2 separate regions of the Homo sapiens genome follow, and region 2 is linked to region 1. The links are contacts of gene promoters, found by promoter capture Hi-C in blood cells and fetal thymus (Javierre and others, 2016). All regions are on one chromosome and are shown on one strand. The core of a region is centred on a gene start or on the middle of the fragment in contact, and the rest is flanking DNA. Distances in the headings are between cores, read along the strand shown.

The links. Contacts are between HindIII fragments. The CHiCAGO score rates a contact against its expected background, and 5 or more counts as called.
Region 2: a fragment that was not itself captured here is called in contact with the fragment with the promoter of KLF15 in region 1 in 2 of 17 cell types (fetal thymus and naive CD8 T cells); the score reaches 5.4 in fetal thymus.

Annotation. Positions count from the first base shown.
Region 1 is chr3:126,354,686-126,361,186 of GRCh38, forward strand. It overlaps KLF15 (KLF transcription factor 15), which reads right to left and starts at 2,723. Exons shown (of 3, transcript NM_014079.4): 1 at 2,552-2,723. RefSeq lists enhancers at 1,265-2,024, 2,025-2,784 and a silencer at 2,683-2,902. The HindIII fragment of the contact is 4,432 bases long and covers 1-4,304 here.
Region 2 is chr3:127,544,956-127,551,456 of GRCh38, forward strand. All of the region lies in intron 6 of LINC02034 (long intergenic non-protein coding RNA 2034), which reads left to right. Among named protein-coding and RNA genes, the nearest start is that of LINC01471, 10 kb to the left of the region's middle. RefSeq lists a silencer at 2,969-3,288. The HindIII fragment of the contact is 2,366 bases long and covers 1,545-3,910 here.

The DNA of each region.
Region 1 (6,501 bases), core at 1,473-3,972:
CCTATTCACCAAATCAGGTGCTGGGAAGGAATGAAAGTGCTAGACACTGTGAAGGGCACAAGGCTGGGCAGAGCCCACACTCCACCCTGGGCCTCCCCCAACCCTTTCCCACCCTCCAAGCAGGGGCTCCATTTCTGAGTCTGCAAGTTGTCTGCCAGGTGACCTCAGGCAGGTGCACAGCCTTTCTGTGTCTGTCTCAGTCTGTGAGATGGGGGTGCTTCCAACAGTGCCTGGTTCCTCAGGTGTTGTGAGAATTCCGTGAGCTGACGCTCACTAAGCACCCCCCTCAGGATCTGGCACACCGGCAGCACTCAGCCAGTGCCAGCCATTGGTGTCAGCCTGCAGGCACGGCAAACGTTCGGCCTCTGCCCCTCTACTGTGATGTTAAGGAATCAGGGGCCTCCAGCCCTCCTGGGACCCAGAGCAGGCCTTAGAGCCCTCCCCTGAAACGTGATCACTAACTGGCCATCCCATGATATTAAGTAATTACTGTTAATATTTTTAATTGTGATGATCATATTGTGGTTAAAGGAGGCCTTACCTTTTAAACATATAAACAGATATTGACAGATAAAGTGATCTAAAAAGTACAGTAGGGGGGCTGGAAGGAAACACCCTCCAATGGCTTCCCAAGGACAGGTGGCCCTATCTCCTCGCAGCAGCCCAGCACCTGGGCCCTTGGGACTCTCTGCAGACCTCACCACCAACTGCCTCTCTTCTAGTCCAGGTGTGCTCACTTCACTTCAGCCTCAGCCCGGGGCCACTGCCCTGGCTCTTCCCCCAGCACTGCAGGTGGGAGCTGCTTAGTTAGATCTCGGCTCAGAAGTCACCCCTGTGGGGGCCTCCAGGCCCACTCTGTTACATCATCCTATATTATACTCTTCCCTGCAGTTTCTACTGTGGGAAACTATCTTGGTGATGTGTTTGTGAACTTTCCTCCCTGTCTACCTTCCCATCAGAATATCAGCTGTCCTGACTGTTCACTCCAAGGCCATATCCCAGAGTCTAAAACAGGACCGGGCAAAATTTGCTGAATGAGTGAATGGAAGGTGCGGGGGAGAGCGGGGGAGGTCGGAGAGTAGGAATGGGTGGCCCAGGTCAGCCAACAGGGTCTTAATGCTGGGCTGAACGTCCCAAGGGGGAAGCACCCAGGCACTGACAACCCAGAAAGGGCTCTGGGATGTCCCAGGGCACCGGCATTAAAGAGAGGACACTCTAGGGCTGGAGCTGGCTCGGCCCCTGAAACACAGCAGCACGTGGGGCGGCCAGAGGCGCAGGCTGCGTGCAGGGGGAGGGGACACGCTGTTCCGGGCACAGTCCCCGGCTGGCCGCCGGACTCCGCCCCCTCCCCTGGCCCGGCCAGGCCTGCTGTTTATCCTCCCGGGGACACAGCGGCTGCAGGAACAACATGTAATTGATAACAAGCCCAGCGCCGGCCAAGGGCTTGCCATTGGGTCAGCGTGCAAATCACGGGGGTGGCGGCGGGGGCTGTCCTTCAAAATAAGAGTCTCCGGTCCCTGAGCCGCCCGCAGGCCCCAAAGTCGCAGAGTCCGGGCGTCCTCACACCTGTAGGGCGGCAGGGTCTCCCCAGGGGCCACCTGGTCCGGGGGGACAGGGGGAAGGAGATTTGAGGCTCTCAAACAATTGTTGATTTTGTCACCTCCGAGGGCCGTGGGAGAAAACAGCCCCTCTGTGCCCTCCGTGAGAGGGGGGTTCCATGAGTAACACCAAGGCGGGGAGGGAAGAGTGAACCGGACCACCATATGGGATGGGGACGGCCTCTCTGCCCCGCCGCCGCCATCCCTCGGTCAGGCCATGGCTTTGGTAATGTTCGGTCTGAGCGGACGGGGACTCAGCGTGGAGTGAGACGCGTGAACGGTGCGGGTGTGCGTGAAGGGGTGTGAGTTCCTGTCGTGTGACTGCGTGTGCGGGGCGTGGTGCGCGGCAGCCGCTGTGGCTGTGCGGGAGGCTGTCCGCGAAGGACTCGCGCGTGGAGCCGCCGTGGGTGCCGGCGGGTGAGGGGAAACGTGCGTGGGAAATGAAGAGAGCCGGCTCAGACCCCTTCTAGAGTCCTGGACCGCTGCCCGCTGGGCACCATGCCCTCGTCCCACGCCCCCCCCTTGCCCCCGACACTGCTGCGGTGACCGACAGTAACCCCTCCGTCTCCAGCCCCTCCGCCCCCCAACCCCGGGCTGGCCAGCGCGTCCGCTCTCCCCCTCCTCTCACCAGGCCGCGCCGGTGCCCACCATATGGGAGGGCCGGCCCGCAAGGCGCGCCACGGAATCGCCCGGCCAGGCACCGAGGCGGCGGCGCGGGCCTCAGCAAAGTGCTGGTGGGCGACCGGGGCGGGGGGGGTCACCTCCCCCGGGCCAGTCCGACCCCTGCCCACCTCCGCGGGGGCCCATCCCGCTCCTCCGACATTCCTCCAGCACTCGCGCGGTGCCTCCGAGAGCTGCGCGGGAGCACGGCCACGCGCCCCGAGGCCGGCCAGCCCTCTGATCACCCGGGGCCGCGTCCACGCGGCCGGCCGGCCCCGCCGCGCCTCTCCCACCTGAACTTGGCGCACGCCGGACCGGCGGCCAGGCCCCGGCGGTCCTGCGGCCGGGCGGGCTGGGCTGGGGGCGGCGGCTAGACTCTCGGTCCGGCGGCGGCCGGGGGCCGAGCCGCGGGTCCTGCGCTGGCTCGATCGCCCGCCGGCCCGCGGGTCGCTGCGGCGGAGCACTAGCCCGCCCGCAGCTCGCTGGGCACTCACTCCCCGCCGCTCACGTGACGCAGCGGGCGCCGCGAAGGCTCGCAGGAGGCTCGGCCCCGGGCGCGCGCCCCATTGGCCCGCGCTGCGCGTCACACGTCCCGCCCCGCCCTGGCCCCGCCCTGGCCCCGCCCCGGCCCGCCCGCGCGGCTCCCGGACTTGAGCGGCGGATGCTCGGGGATCCCGGAGCTGCCAGACGCGCACGCCCCCCAACACGCTGCCTGGTCCCTGGCCCGCAGCCACCTCCTTGCTTCCCACCTCTCGCCGCTGTCTCGCGGCGTCCACGAGGGCCGGCTTCTAAAGCTCGGTTCCCAAGGTGAGAACGTGAGACTGGCCTGAAGACTTAAGAAAAGCTCTGAGATCGCCCCAAAGTGCAGTCTGCGTGATTGAGCGGGAAGCGCTGGGGAGCCTGTCTGGCCCGGTCTGGCCCACGTCCCCACCTTCATCCCCAGCGCGGTACAAGCAGCTCTGTCCCCCGCTGAGTGTCAGATAAATCACTTGCCTAGAAGGACGTATTTTTGGATAAATACGGTATTGGGCTTTCAGCAGGACAATCAGTTACCCTCCGGAAATTGCGCGCGCTCTGCGCTGCCACCCTGCCCTCCAGGACTAAGGAGGTTTGCTGACCGGCCCCCCCCCCCCCCACCTGAAACCAATGACACCTTGTCTCTGGGGCACCTTTCTGAAGACCAAACAATGCTTCGCAGTCTACAAAAGCGTTCGTAGACTGCTTTAGTCCGCAGCAATCCTGGCTCGCATTTGGGTTCCCGCTTAGAGACAGGAAGAGTAAGGCTCAGAGTGGCTTGCCCAAGAAAAACACGTGGGCTGACGGTGCTAGGCACCCTGCTGTGCCCTTTAATCCACACTCCAGCTGGATCCTCAGCCAAGCACTTTACAGATGAAGAAACCGACTCAGAGAGGGCACCAGCCCTCCCCAGCCCCACAGCTGGGAAGGAGCAGGTAGAGAGGTAGAGCCAGGTCATCTTGCAGACACCCCCAGGCCACCTGTGCAGAGCTGTCCTACTGAGCTTCCTTCCTCTCCCCTCCTGGCACTGGGAGGTGGGGAGCATTTTCTCCTGCTTCTTCTTGAAGACATTGCTAGAACAGGAATTTTTAACCATACCCTTTCCAGGCTCTCTGGAATGCTATAGGTCTAGGCTTGCTTGACCAGGGATCTGGGGACACTGTGCACCAGGTCAGTGCCAGGGATTCAGCTGCTGCTGCCACTAGGAGCCAAACCAATGCGTTGCCAGAGGGCTTTAAGGACATTTGTGTTGAGGATGGTGAGAGGCTTTCTAGTTCACAGAAGTTGGAATGACCACTCTGGCATTACAGCAGCCCTGGCTAGCCTGGGCAGAACAGTGGAATTTGTCCATTTTCATAAGAGAAGAGATAGAGGCCTGTATTCCTCATTTTGTCTCAGTGCAGGTCTGGATTGGGCATAGCCACAGCACTTCTCCATCTGCCCTGCCCGCCCTCGGTCTTCACTCCTCACATACTCTCAGTCTAGTGCCTCCCATCTCCTTGGTGAAAGCTGCAGCAAAAGGTCAGAAAAAGCTTGGAAGCAAAGACACATCGTTAGCACCTTCAGCACACAGGGAGGAGGCCCCACTGGCTAGAAACTGGAGAACAGCCAAGATGGTCCTGTTAAAACCTGAGTCAGATCAGGTCCCTTCTGGGTTCAGAAGCTTCCAGCAGCTCCCAACTCACTCAGAGTAAGTAAAGCCCAAGTTTTCACCACAATCTTTAATGCCCTACAGCTAGGTACAGCATTTACCCCAAACCATATCTAAGGAGAAAAGCTCCCTCAATATAGTGGGGAGAATCTATCATTGAGATTCCTTGGCAGAAAGGAGAGAACAAAGTCAGGTGGTGCTCTTCAAAACAGATGACCAAAAACAGTAAAGATTTATCTTCATAGCAGTGAAAATCTCTAAGTTTCTTTTCTTCCAAAGCAATTCCTTCCCTACTTCTACATAATCAAGTATAGAAAAGGGCCTTGGAAGGATATAAATTATATTGGTTAAATATTGTATGACCTTGCCTATAAAACCATTTGGGCCTGGTGCCTTTTTGGAGTGATCTTTCTCCATGCTTGAATTTCACACATTTTACCAGGATATGTCTGACTCTAGCCTCCTTCTGTTTTCATTGTTACTACTCTATGCTTGGTGTATCCTTTTAATCTGGAAACTCAAGTCTTTCTTCGTTCAGGGAAACGTTCTTCTATTGTCTCTTGTTTCCCCCTAAACAGCTGCATGGATTGCTCCATCGCATACTCAGGTCTCTGCTCAGATGCCACCTTATCCCAGACACCTTCCTCACCCATCCCGTCTAAAACAGCACATCTGCTGCCCTCAGTTTCCTGGCCTCTGTTTATTTTGCTTCATGATCCTGATCTTTATATTATTTATTGATTTGTTTCTTGCCTGTCTCTCCTATCAGGAGACAAGCTCCTTAAGAGCATGGACTTGTATTTTTTTATTCACTGCTGTATCCCCAGAACCTAGAACACTTCTGAAACATGTTGAGGAAATGAGATTTTCTTCTTGCCCCAGTAAAGCTGCCAATGGATATGGGATCTTTGGAGAAGCTCTTCAAGGTCTGGTGCTCTCTTCCACAGTACTGTAGCCACCAATCTTGTCCTCATCCCCTGTTCCACACACATACCTGAGACTTCCAGCCTCCCCACTAGCTCATGCCTGCCCGGGGGTCTGAGCCCAGCCTGCCCTCTTCCAGGAAGCATTTTGAGGGCCCCATTCAGTGGCTCAATGGTCTGTGCACAAAGGGCCCACTGTGGCCATCAAGCCCTGTGACCTCCCACAGTGACTGACTTCTCCTCACCCTTCCCAGGTGGGAAGCAACAATTCCCCCTACTCTCAGCTCCCCTGTCCCCAGCCATGCTTCAAGGGTCTCTGGCCAGAGTCCCTTACCTTCTCACCACCTCTTCCTCTAAGGGCTGGGGTGCTGAAGAGATCCTACCCATTCTGGGCTCAGGAAGTGGTTTTGAGCTGGAGGCTAGGGAATAGGCAGGCAGAAGGGCTGCTGGTGCCCAGGGGCCAGGAAAAACATGCTGCAGGAGGTTCCTCAGGCTGGGCTGGACCGTTTCCCCACCAAGCAGACCCCTGGTGCTGTGTAGACAAGAGGTCAGGTCTGTTCTGACACCAGGCGACTCAGATGAGGGCCCACTCCTCTCTCATGACCAGTGTTGTCCCCACCCCCAGCCCCCCAGCCCTGAGCACACCTAGCTTTGAGGAACATCAGCCCAGGGACCTGGGGACCTGGTGGTCCAAGAAGACACAGAGAAGGGCTGAGTCCTGAGAGCCTCTGCCCTGAGAGCCTCTGCCCCTGGCTCTGAGCATTGGCAAAGCCCCAGGTATACCCCTGCCCGGAGGATCCAGAAGCAGCAGGGGCTGAGGTGGGATGAGAGCTCCAGCTTCCCCTGGTCCATGGACACATCAGTGTGGTGCTGGGGTCAGAGGGCTCCTCAGCTTCCCCTCATCCCCGTCTCTGCCATGAGTTGTGGTCTCTCTGACACCTGACAGATTTCCAGGCAGGCAGGCAGCCTGAACCCCAGCCTAGTGGGGCTGTACATGCGTGGCAGCCTGGACTCTGGTTCTTTCACACAGTCCCTCACTGCTGAGTGGCCTTGGGCAAATCAGTTTGTCTCTCAGAGCCTCAGTTTCCTCATCTATAAAATGGGTGCTCAGACCCCTATCCTACTTACCTCAAAAGGTTGTTTGAAGATAACC
Region 2 (6,501 bases), core at 1,478-3,977, 1.2 Mb after region 1:
AGCCAGCCCATCCATCCATCCATTCATTCATTCCTTGAGAACCCATCATGTGAATCAGGGCCCTGAGCTGGGGTCTGGGTGAGCAGGAAGAGGAAGGGCTGCACAGATGGCGCACACACTTGGGCGGGGAGACCCACGGTCCTAGGCAGGCAGGGATCCGAAGCATCATGAGGAAGGCAGAGATCCAAAGCATCATGCAGGAGGCAGAGTTAAGCAGGGTGGAGCGACCGAGCAAGTGCTTCTCCGAGGAGGTAACATTTAAGCTGAGGCCTGAATGGAAAAATGGAGCCAGCCACACCACAGTCTGGGGAGGTGCTCCCAGAGGAGGGGACTGCAAGTGCAAAGGCCAAGAGACCAGTAGGAATGGGGGCTGTTTAAGGACCAGCACCGGAGAAGGGGGAGGTCAGGATTTCAGCGGGTGCCTCTCAGGCAGGGCCTGTGTCTGTGGCAGGAATAATCTATATTTTACACCATGTGCGCTCGGAGGAGGCTGCTTCAAGCCTGCTGGAGCCGCTCCCTCTGCTGTGGTGGGGACTAATGATACCACTCGTCTGTGCACAGCCGCTTTATTATTACTTATTGGCCCACATGATCCTCCACCAGGAGGAACTGTTAGGCTTATTTAATGGATCAGGAAACTGAGGTTCCGAACAAGAAGCAGAGCTGGATTTGAGCAGAAACAGCCATTCCAGCTGAATTCAGCCCTTAGAACTAGTTTGTTTTACCTGTATAGCTTTGAAAATTTGAATCCGTTGCCAACTCTACAACATTGGGAGCCTTCACGTCGAAGATGTTTTGGCTTTCGGCATCTCTTCAACAGTCTGTGGCACTGGCTATGGCAGTGTGAGCCCTGGCTCTGCACGGGGTTGTCTGCAGATGCCCCTTCAAACCAGAGGTCACAGCCCCCACTCTCCGAATCCCATGCCCCTCTGGTGTCCTGCCCTGCTCCCCCAGCACCTGAGTTTGCCACCTGGGCCACCTCTGCTTGAGGTGGGCTTGAGCCCACCTGCTGTGGTGAGCCCGTCTTGCTTAGCTGACAAGGGACACATACACTAGAGAGTCTCTGAGGGAACAAACAATCCTCCCGCACCACTCCCCACCCCGATTCCACGACTGTCTCCTCAGTTTCCTGCCACCAGACCTGAGACTCCCAACTGCAACTTTCAAGATGTGAATGAATTCAGAGACCCTAAGAGCCAGAGACCATGGATGGGGCTATCCTCCAAGGGGAAACTGAGGCCAGTGGGGTTCGGGGCCGGCCAGCTAGTCACTCCTGGGGCTTCTGGAGACATGCTGTGAAGAAGCACATTCTTCCCTTCACCTTGGGGCTCGGAGCCCCAGCTCTGCCTCCATTTAGCTGTGACACTTGGGCAGCAGGCCTCAGTTTCCCCAACTGTTCACTGACAGAATCACTGTGAAGTTCATGGGGGCTTCTCGGCTCACGTACCCATTGTCTCAGGAGAGGAGCAGCTTGTCTCTCTGGGTTCAAACTCAGCCTCCACTTTTAGCTATGTAACCTTGGGCAGGTAGCTTAATCTCTCTGAAGCTTGGCTTCTTCATCCAAAAAAGGAGACGCATTATTGGGATTATTATGAGATTCCAGGAGATGATTCAAGAAAAGCCCTTAGCACAGAGCAAGTGCTCAGCAAATGTGAGCAAGAGCAGGGAGTTGTGAGCTGACCCGTGTCCCCTCCCCAAGGGCTTAGGCCAAGGTCACGACCAACAGGCCAGCGTCCCAGAGAAGGCCAGGCTCTAGGCCTCCTCATCCAGAGTCCACTTGGCCGAGTGGTATAGTCCCAGACTGAGGTCACCCTCCACTCCCATGTCACTGAGTCCCTGCCATGTGCCAGGCAGCCCTGTCAGTGCTGGAGGGAGGTCCCGTGGAGACAGAGACTGGGAGGGTGCTGCCCTGAAGTTCTAGGGGGAAAAAGGAAGGAATAAATAGGGGAGTGGAACAGAAACATCCAGGGAGGAATTGGGACTACTTGGTCCATCGGGGGGAGAGAGAATTTTGGGCCATCAGGAGAGGTTGAGGGGCATTGCCAGGGAAGGGCTTTCCAGGCAAGGGAGCCACACGTGCTGGGGCAGGAGGCAGGCACAACCCTGAGGCCTTGTGGATAGCAGGAAGGCTGTTGTGCCCGCTGCAAGAGGAGAGGAGGGGAGAGGGGAGCCGCGGTGTCAGCTGGGCGGCAGGGCATTCATGGGGATTCTATTTTAAGGTGACAGGAGCCCTGGAGGGTTTGAAGCCAGCTCGGTGGTGGGCTTTCCATTCCACACCAAGGCCAGCGGCAGGCTCAGCTCAAACCCTGAGAGTCTGGCTCCAAACAGCTCCAGGCAAGAAAATGAAGCTCGGAGGGGAACTCAGGAGGGAAGGATTGGGGTTGGGAAGGTGGTGCGACTGGGGAGGGAGGGGCACAGGCTGTGGTCAATGGGTGCGGTCTGAGGCTGGGGGTGCGAGCTGGGGTCTGGAGGTGAGACACGGACTGGGTGCTGGAGAGGGGACATAAGCTGGGGTACTCAGGAGGGGTCAAGGGAGGAGGGACGGAGCTGGGGCAAGGACTGGGTCCGGGGGAGGGGTAGGGGAGTAAGCCAGGCGGTGTTGGCGCAGCTCAGAGCAGACGCACAGCCCGGGGCTGGGCAGCAGGGCAGGCGCTGCCCAGCCCCTCCGAAAGGCGCAACTGAGAGGGGCCTGCGGCAGTCCGGAGGCGCCCCCTCCTCTTCCCCTCCTCCTCCTTTCCCTCCCCTCCTCTTCCTTCCCCTCCCCTCCTACTCCAACCCCTCCTCTCCCCTCCTCTCGCTGCCTTCCCCTTTCTTTTACTCTCCCCTCACCTCCCCTCTCCTCCCCTCTTTCTCCTTCCTCTCCCCTCCCCTTGCTGTCCTCCCGTCCCTTTCCCTACCCTCCCCTCCCCTCCCCTCCGCCCCCCTCCCCTTCCGGAGCCCGGCCCCGCGCGCCGCCATGCCTGGTGCCGCACCGCCCCCTGGTGCCCACGTCAAGCATGGCGCGGAGCGACTGCACTGTGCCCGGGCTGCACTGGGGGCGAGAGGCCAGGGAGCCCCTACGGCCTCCAGAGGCCGGGCGTTGGGGGGGCCGCAGAACGTCGGGGACTCCCTTGGGACCCACGCTCAGCTCCGCCCTGCCCGCACTCGGCTGGGTCCTTGGGGCCCCTCCCCTCTCTGGATCTCGCTTCACAGCCAAGATCACCAGCTGGGAGTGGCCAAGGTCACCAGCTGGGAGTGGCCGACCCAGCGCCAGGCGCCGTCCCGCAGCGCTGTCCCCGTCCCCGCAGGCCAGCAGGCTGCACGACTGTCTGAGCCTCAGTGTCCTCATCTGTAACACGGGCATCATCATATCCCCAGCTTCAATCTTCACGTCTCAAACCATTGAAATCTCAGCAGTAAGAATCCAAGTATCCAAGTGCCAAATTCTCCATCAATGTCTACATAGTTTTGGTTTAAGTCTGTCTTTTCATGCATTTCCTTTTAGCACTGGAATGAAGTTCAAGCAACAGGCCGGTCACGGTGGCTCATGCCTGTATTTCCACCACTTTGGGAAGCCAAGAAGGGCGGATCACTTGAGCCCAGAAGTTCGAGACCAGCCTGGGTAACACAGGGAAACCCCATCTCTACAAAAAATTTTTAAAAATTAGCCTGACTTGGTGGCGCACACCTGTAGTTCCAGCTACTGAGGAGGCTGAGGCGGGAGGATCGGGAGGATCGCTTGAGCACAGGAGGTCGAGGCTGCAGTGAGCCGTGATCACACCACTGCGCTCCAGCCGGGGCAGCAGAGCAAGACCCTGTTTAAAAAAAAAAAAAAAAAAAAAAAAAAAACCAGACACACAAGCGACAGTGAACCTCAGAGGCTGGCATATAAAAAGGGTGGTTTTTGAGAAGCAAGACCCTCCAGAAGTCAAGCTTTAGCCCTATCAAAAGATGTCCAAGAAACTTTTTTTTTTTTTTTGAGATGGAGTCTTGCTCTGTACCCAGGCTGGAGTGCAGTGGCACGATCTCAGCTCACTGCAACCTCCACCTCCCAGGTTCAAGCAATTCCCCTGCCTCAGCCTCCCAAGTAGCTGGAACTACAGGCATATGCCACCATGCCCAGCTAACCACACCTGGCTAATTTTTTGTATTTTAGTAGAGACGGGATTTCACCATGTTGACCAAGATGGTCTCGAGCTCCTGACCTCGTGATCCACCCACCTCGGCCTCCCAAAGTGCTAGGATTACAGGAGTGAGACAGCGTGCCCGACCAGAAACTATCTTTAAGCTAAAAATGCACTTAAAGAAAAAGGAAAAGTCAAAAGACAAATGAGAAACTGGGGAAAATGTTTGAAACTCATTACAAAAGTCTAGCACAGGGTCAGCAGGCTGTTTGTGTAAAGGGCTGTGTAGTGAGTACTTTCAGCTTTGCAGACCATGAGGGTATCTGTGGCAACTGTTCAGCTCTGCTGTGGTGGCAGAAGGCAACCACAGACAGTGAGTGCAGCTCTGTTCCAGTAGAATTTTATTTACAAAAAAATTTAAAAGGCAGTGGGCCCAATTTATCCCACAGGCAACAGTTTGCCAATCCCTGGTCTAACCTAATACATTAAAAGCTTCTAGAAATCTAGAAAAGACAACCCCCCCGAAAATTGGCAGAAAACTTGAATAGACAGTTTACAGAAAACTCAAAAGGCCCCTAAATGTATGACAAATGTCCAACTCCACACATGATAACAGAAATGGAAATTAATGACATCAAGTTACCATTTCTCACCTATCAGAACAGCAAAGAATTCTAGTGCTGCCGACAGCGTGTGTGTGTGTGTGTGTGTGTGTGTGTGTGTGTAACAGGTCCTTCCACATTGCCATGAGAGTCAAGGGAACACCCTCTGGAGGGGAAGCTGTCCATAGAAAGGGCTGTCATATTTACCATGTGACCCTGCAACCCTACCTCTGAGCATGGGTCTTGCAAACATCCTGGGCACCACGAAATGATGCGTCCTCACAGTTCCACCACGGGAGGCACTGCTGCCGTTTGTAATCATGAAAATATTGGAAACAACCCATCTAGGAGCTGGTTAGACAAACTCTGCTTTGGGCACACAGTGGAATACCGCACAGTTGTTGAAGACAGTGAGGAGGCTCCGTGGGCTGATAGGAAAATTCCACATGCTGTTGGGAAACAGGTCCTTCCACATTGCTGTGAGACTCACCACTACCGCTAGATCCCAGGGCCCAGAACAGTCCTGGCACATAATGGATGTCCAATAAATACATGAATGAATGAATGAATGAATGAATGAATGAATGAAGAATCTGCACACTCTAACACTTAGGGACGAGCCAAGAGAGGCTGCATTCCCTGGGCCATGCTAGTAGATGTTAGCAGAAAAACAAACATGCAGAACCACGCACACAGTATAAGGCTTTTGTGTAGGAATGGGGTGGAGAAATAAGAATGTCTATTTGTATATGTTTGTGTAAAGAAACATTAAAAGGATCCATAAGAAATCAGTACAAGTGGTCACCTGTCTGGGGCATGGGGTGGTCAGGAACAGGAAGGAGAGAAAGAATTCTCAATATACATCACTGTAACTTTTTAAGCCCCGTGAGAATATATTTCCTATTCAGAAATTTAAAATTTTTTAAATCAATGTACATGGCTCTGACAAGGAGTGAGGAAAGAAGCCAAATACAGAAGGATATATATAGAATGCTACAGTTTGTGTGGGAAAGGCATTTCCTTACGTGTGGAATATCTCTGGAAGGATTACAATCCCCCACTCAAGTGCTGGCAGTGATGGCCTCCAGGGGGAACGTGGGGCCAGGGGTTGGAGAGAGACTCACCTTTGACTGCTGATCCTTTTGGATGGTTGGTTGGTTTTTGTTTTTGTTTTTTACCATATGCGTGCTTTGAGATTTTCAAATCAAAAGAAAAAGAGATGAAAAGCAAGTGGGTGAAAGCCCATGGCTGTTATAATAACACAGCAGCTCCCCCGACAGCGTTCCGAGGGTGTTGGCTGCATTAAGTCACCTAGCACGCTCTCTGTGGGTACCATCACCAGCTCCACTTTATGGCTGAGGAAGCTGAGCTGCAGAGCAGTGAGGTGGCCTGCCCAGCATCACACAGGGTGAGCACACCCCCAGCAAGTCCCCATGGCCAGCAGCTGGAAAACACCGTTGCAGCCCAACACTGTTCAAAGCAGGGATTTCCTCTATGAAACCCTCTCGACTGGTTGCCCAGCCTATGCTCAAATTCCTCCCAGAATAGGAAGCTCACCTCCTTACAGGGAGGGCATTCCATGGTCAGATGTTTGGGTCAAAAGCCCCTCCTCACACTCAGTGGCAACGGGCCTGCCTGCCCCGGCTCTGTCCTGGGAGCCCATCTAATTGCTCCACCAGGGAAAGCCATGTGGGCACGTGGCTGGGGCACCTGGGGCTATTCTTCATTCTGAGCAGTCCTGGCTACTGCAGTTGCCCCTGCTGAGCGATTCAGGTCCCTTCCTCTCTGAGTCAATA